Regions from separate parts of the Homo sapiens genome. Here region 2 is linked to region 1. Evidence: promoter capture Hi-C in human tissues and cell types (Jung and others, 2019). All regions are on one chromosome and are shown on one strand. The core of a region is centred on a gene start or on the middle of the fragment in contact, and the rest is flanking DNA. Distances in the headings are between cores, read along the strand shown.

What was found. Contacts are between HindIII fragments. The study calls those that stand out against the background at their distance.
Region 2: a fragment that was not itself captured here is called in contact with the fragment with the promoter of LRRC7 in region 1 in 1 of the 25 tissues and cell types used here (dorsolateral prefrontal cortex).

What each region holds. Positions count from the first base shown.
Region 1 is chr1:69,566,522-69,569,588 of GRCh38, forward strand. LRRC7 (leucine rich repeat containing 7) reads left to right here and starts at 1,401. Exons shown (of 27, transcript NM_001370785.2): 1 at 1,401-2,120. The coding sequence starts at 2,119. RefSeq lists a silencer at 825-1,054. The HindIII fragment of the contact is 6,759 bases long and covers 1-3,067 here.
Region 2 is chr1:68,565,509-68,568,575 of GRCh38, forward strand. No RefSeq gene overlaps it. Among named protein-coding and RNA genes, the nearest start is that of DEPDC1, 70 kb to the left of the region's middle. The HindIII fragment of the contact is 3,377 bases long and covers 1-3,067 here.

The sequences.
Region 1 (3,067 bases), core at 151-2,650:
AATACCAGCATAATATATCCTTTTTTAAAGATGTAATTCATTAGATGTGTGTAGAGAATAAAAGTGTAAATATAGGCTGGGAACGGTGGCTCACGTCTATAATCCCAGCATTTTGGGAGGCCGAGACAGGTGGATCACCTGAGGTCAGGAATTCGAGACCAGCCTGGGCAACATGGTGAAACCCCCGTCTCTACTAAAAATACAAAAAAAATCATCCGGGCGTGGTGGCACGCGCCTGTAATCCCAGCTACTCGGGAGGCTGAGGCAGGAAGATCGCTTGAACCGGGGAGGAAGAGGTTGCAGTGAGCCGAGATCGCGCCATTGTACTCCAGCCTGGTCAACAAGAGCGAAACTCCGTTTCAAAAAAAAAAAAAAAAAGTGTAAATATAGTACTAGCTTCATTGATATGTCTTGCTGCTTCTGGGACTTTAGAGAAGCGTATAAGAAGAAAGTGTGTGTGCCTTTACGTAAGGGAGCATATGAGAGAGAGAGAGAGAGTGTGTGTGTGTGTGTGTGTGTGTGTGTGTGTGTGTGTGTGTGTCAGAGAGAATGTTCATGGCAGGAGGAGGGGCGGTGAATATATGAAGGGAAGTTGGGAAAACCCTTCCCTTTTTGTGCACTCCCAGGGCAGCAGCCGCAACCCCAGAATGAGGAGAGGACTTAAGAGCAGGCACAAGGTTCGCTGCCATGACTGATGTGAAGCGACCTGACGCACAAGCGGAGACTTTTCTCCTTGGCAGCCAACAACCTGCAGCAGGCAAGGCGGGCGGGGGAGGAAACCCCGAGGAGGCGCTCCCGGCCGCCTCTTTGCTGAGATAGCAGGAGCAGCAGCCTGAGGAGCCACGAGCTCAGCGTCACTGAGCTAGTGCGGGTGCAGGGGCGCTCAGGCAGGCGCACAGGCCGGGAGCCGCTTCTGCCGCTCAGGCGGCCGCGCTGCAGAAAGCCGCGCCGCGCTGCCCGAGCGCCCGGGGCTGGCCCGCGAGCGGGAGGAGCCGGCAGCCGCGCTCCGCCCCGCGCTGAGATTCGTGCCACCTGCCTCGAACACCACGGAGGCGAGAGGAACCCAGAGAGCTCGGCCTCTCGTCCCGTTCTCGAAAAGCAGCCTATCGTGACGGAGCCGGGAGAAGGCTAGCGTTTCAATCCTGTGCAGGACTGGGATTTTTCTTCTCATAATTTGGGGGAGCCGGAGTAGAGGTCAGAGGGACAGGCGAGGATCTCAAAAAGAGACCGAGGGTTGTGAACATGGTTACCCCCTCCTATCATTGGAAAATCTCCTTGACATTTTTCACACTTTGAAGCAGCTGCAGCTGGTGTCGTCGGAAAAGGGGGTGGGAAAAAAGAGAGGGGGCGGGGAGAGCGGTGAGACACAGCCAAGAGCCATGAGCGGCGCCTCCTCGCCTGCCAATCCTGGCACCTGTGCGCCGAGCCACTGCACCGAGGAGGACCCTACTCCGGGTGAACACCGGGCTTGAAGCCACGGACACCCAGCCCCAGTGCAGCGGGTTCTCGCCGGCGGGACCTGCAGCCGCCCACTCGGGCCACCGCCACCGCCTCCTGCAGTTGCGGAGCGCTCAGCCCCTCCGAGACGCCCGCTGCGCCCTGGCCCCTGGGGATCCTCGCCCTGCACAGGCGCGGCAACGGGCAGGGGTTGTTACGGAGTTGGGTGCAGGATTCGCCTTTCCTGCTTGTCTCTTCTCCGCCCAGGATTTATTGTCTGTGGAGCCTTCTGGGGGCGGGGAGGGAGCTGCGCCTCCGCCACCGCCGCCGCCGCCGCCGCTGCTGCTGCGGTCGCTAGCGCGGCGCGCTGGGCAGGCTGAGGCTGGGGAGTGGACGCGCTCCTGCCTCCCCCGCCGGCGCTTCGGGCTTCCCCTCAGCCGCTTCCCGCGGGAACCTCTCCAGCCGTCCACCTGAAGGGCACTGGCATCATGGTCTAACGTGGCACCTTCCTGGATTCCCCTCTATCTCCTGTTCTTCCTACCTTCTACTCCTTCCCTCCTCTTCTCCTCCGAAGACCCTGGCGCCCACTCCACTGCGGACCCCTGAACACTTAAGGAATAACCCTTGGCAGCTGCACGACTACGCTCTCCGAAACCTCATGGGCAGTTTCTCCCGCCGGCGATGTGAGTAAGGCACGCTCGCTCCGTGGCGGAGGGTGCTGCGGGGGCCCGGCCGCGGCGACCGTAGGCGCGCGAGGTGTGGGACCCCAGAGGCCGGCCGGGGGCGGGGGTGGCAGGGCGGGAGGCTTCGGCGCTCGCGGGGAGCTGCTTGTGCGGTGGCCGAGGGAGGCGGCGAAGATGTGGTAGGTTGCAGAGCATTTGGAAATGGGGTGCTAACTGGGCGGGTGCATGGGAGCACCGAGTAGCTTGAGCTGGCAAGAGACCTTAAAGGGTTACATACTGCGAAAAGGAAAGGTAAATGTTGGGCGCTGGTGCTGGGACCATTGGTTCCGCTGAAATTAGGTTTAGCTCCTCGTTATTATCTTGGGTATCTCCAGTCAGCTTTTTTCCCAGAGGTGTCTGAGGGATGAAGCGCGTGTTTGATCGTGACACACACACACACACACTCACACACACTTGTGGCAGGACGCACTTGTCTCTTTATCTTGGAAGGTGTTGTATCAATGTCTCGATGTCTGTTTGAAAAAATACAATTAGAAGATTTTTATGTGATTGGGATTGAAGGGAAAGGGTGGGGTTTGGGGGGATGGAGGGGACGAAGGAACATGAAAGACTGGAGGACGGAAAGAAGTGGGGGAGCGTGTTCCCTGGGAGTCAGGGAGAACCTTGCCTCCCTCCCTGTCAGCTAGACAACTCCTGCCCACACATCTCCTTTGTGTGGCACGAGAAGCTGGTGAACCTGCCTATTCCCAATCCAGCGCTGGGTCCCCTTGAGGATCTTGCGTCCTCCTCTCCGAGTTATTAAGGATGCAGGACGTGTTTCGGATTCGACGTGGAAAGAGGGAGGGAAGCACATTAGCATTAAGGTAATCATGGCACCCTGGCTCGTGGACTATTAGATTGGCTACCAGTGGTCTCTAATCTTACTGTTTGCAGAGTCAAGAATGGGG
Region 2 (3,067 bases), core at 297-2,796, 1.0 Mb before region 1:
GGAGATATCTAAATTCTTGTTTGAGTAATTTTTAAATTAAATTGATTATTTAGGCCTTACTAATATTCAGACCTGAGTGTTTTTCTTTTGGAGCCCTTTCATGGCTTCTCTGAAAACTTGTTTTTCCCATTTCACTACAATTTTCTTAGTGCAGAATGGCTCTTCTTGAGATGATATCCTTTCATAATGTGCCCCTGATGTTACTTTCTATATTTCCTTTCTGTTAGGGTCATCTTATCCTAGCAATAAACACTCTTGGCTAGGAGTCTTTGAAAATGATCTCATACTGATATTCCAATCATCATTTTCATGTATGATCTCTGGGACTTAGGTATCTTTTGTAGAGGACAAGTTACTAAAGCTTCCGTAGCCTTCTTTAGCTTTAGCAGACATGAAATTCCTCTCAAATAGTTTCAAAACAGCAGTGTGATGACAGATGCCAGCTTGTCTTGCTAGACTTCTATAGTTTTGGCTGACAAGCACACAATGAATCCGAAAAGATTCAGAGTTTGTTATTTACAGCACAGCAGCTAGAATGACCTTCATGTTCGCATGAGTTTTCCTTTTCTTTCAAGTCCCCAGGGGGTTATCTGGATGTGGATCCAGGTAGATTCCGCATCCACAGTGGGTCTGCATCAAAACTGAGGAACACTGATCTTCGGTAAACCCAGTCTTATAAGGGACTGCTAACAAACCCACAAACTCCATATCCTCTCTGGAGAGAAACATTATCTATATTACCCTAGACTGTGAGCAAAAATCTCTGGGGAGAGGAGGGAGGCATCTCTATTATCCTGTGATGTCTCTAGGAAAGATGTCTCTCTTTATTATTCATAAATGTAAATAAATTTGTTCCAGAGTGAATCTCTGTTTCTTTTCTTTCAGGGCCACTTGAAAATATTTCTGAAAAATTAGTAATGAAGTGAATAGGTTGTTAATATCTATGAATGTAGAAACATGAAATATTCATGAAGAACTGTTTCCAACATATTTTTTTTTCGCCTGTGGTGGCTAATGTGAGATGAGGGGAGTGGATTCCTAGCAGTGTACTGAATAACTTCAAAATCATCCTTATTAAATCATACCTACTTGTCACTCTTGATATGTTTTGATACTCTTTGTATGCAAATGACTTTAGATATGTAAAACTAGTTCTCAGTGCATCATTTGAAAATCTAGATGTTGGTATGCCTTTTGCTTTGGAATTTCTTATCTATTTTACTTTGATCCAAACCTTTCAAATAAACAGCCTGCTACTTAAATATCAGACAAAACAGAATTTAAGACAGAGCATTATGAAAAAAAAATCAGCATACCTTGATAACAGTTTTTCTTCCCTATGAAAATACGGTACTCGACTTACATGCACTTAATATCTAGTTTTAAATATGTATAAAACAATTGGCACATCTACATTTGGCATAATTGGCACATCTAACATTTCTCAACTGATATTATGAGATTGGTAAGACCTTGATACCAAAACCAAATGAAAAAAAAAATGAGAAAAAATTTTAGGCCCATTTCACGTAGAAATGTGCAAACATAAACAAATATTAGTGAATAGAATTTATCGAAAGGTAATCCATCATCATTGAATTGGATTTATTCTAGGAATTTAGTAGAGCTTCAGAATTAGAAAATCAAAGTATTTTACTCGAATAATTTAAAGAGCAAGAATGATGTAATCATCTCAAAATATAAAATATAATAAAAAATTAAACACTAAATCAATAGTCTAAAAACCTCTTAGAAAGCAAATTATAGATGAGAGCTTCCTTATCCTAATAAAGGTATCTACAAAAATTTACACCAAACATCACTTCTAAGATAATTTTGTAAAAATCAAGAACAAGACTTGGATGCCTGATATCACCACTTTAATTTAACATTTAACTAGCTACCAGTCATTTCAATAAGAAGAATAACATTTGGAATACACAGGAGAAAAACTAAATTCTTGTAGCCAATATTATTATCTATGTAAAAAAATAAATCTAGAGATAAATTATTAAAATTAATGTTTTATAAGGCTTCAAGTTAGAATATTGATATTAAGTCAATTTTGTTTTTATATCTCACCACAACTAATTAGAAAATGTAGTTTAAGGATATATCATTTACAATAGCAACAGTGTTTTGAATATAATAAAAAAGTTTAAGATTACTATGGAGAAAAATCCAAGACCTTATTAAAAGACATTATTAAATAATACCTGAATATAGAAAAAGATAAACAGTACTATATTAATGGGTTGAAGACTCCTTATTGTAAAGAAAGTTCAGCATGATGTTCCAAAATGAAAAGTTAGCCAAATAGCCTGACTAGGAGAGCTAACTATGCAGATTAATTCCTTATGTCTTATGAGATGAAATGTATACGTGGTTCTGGCAATTATGATAAAACATTCATAGTAAGTGCATGCATTGAAAATACAAAATGACCATACTGATATATCATAATAAAAAGACAATGAGTTAGGGTCTATCAGCCATGCAAAATTAAAAGAATCCATCATTTTGGGAAAGCTACTAAGTTCTGATAATTAACACCAACTGACAGAAATTTTAAAATTCATGTCTTAACAAGTAAATCTTCACTTTAGAAATGGCCTCTATCTAATGATCAGTAGTTCATTTGAATCACTTATACTAAGCAAACAGGTTATATGTCCCAACTGGATCCTAAAACCCGGTATGATTACTCTTTGGGAAGGAATCAAAATGCTTCAGAAATCCTAAGAAAATAGCAATATAAATAAAGCAATAACTCTGGAAGGTATGAAAATAGTAAACAAATTATATCTGTGGTGTTGACAATTTATATCCATTAAGTATACTGAACAAAGTTGAGATTTTTATGTTTTGATCTGTGTATATTTGTTTACTGTTTAAAGGAAAGTGAAGAATCAGCCATAATAATAGCAGTTTAAATTATTTAAATAAATTTATTGTGTAAAGTTTGTAGTTACCATTTAAATTATTGAGCCAACCTGGTTTTCAGAATTTGCTTAAGAGAAATGTGAGTTCAATACATTAAGCATTAAGCAAAGTACAAATGATAGTG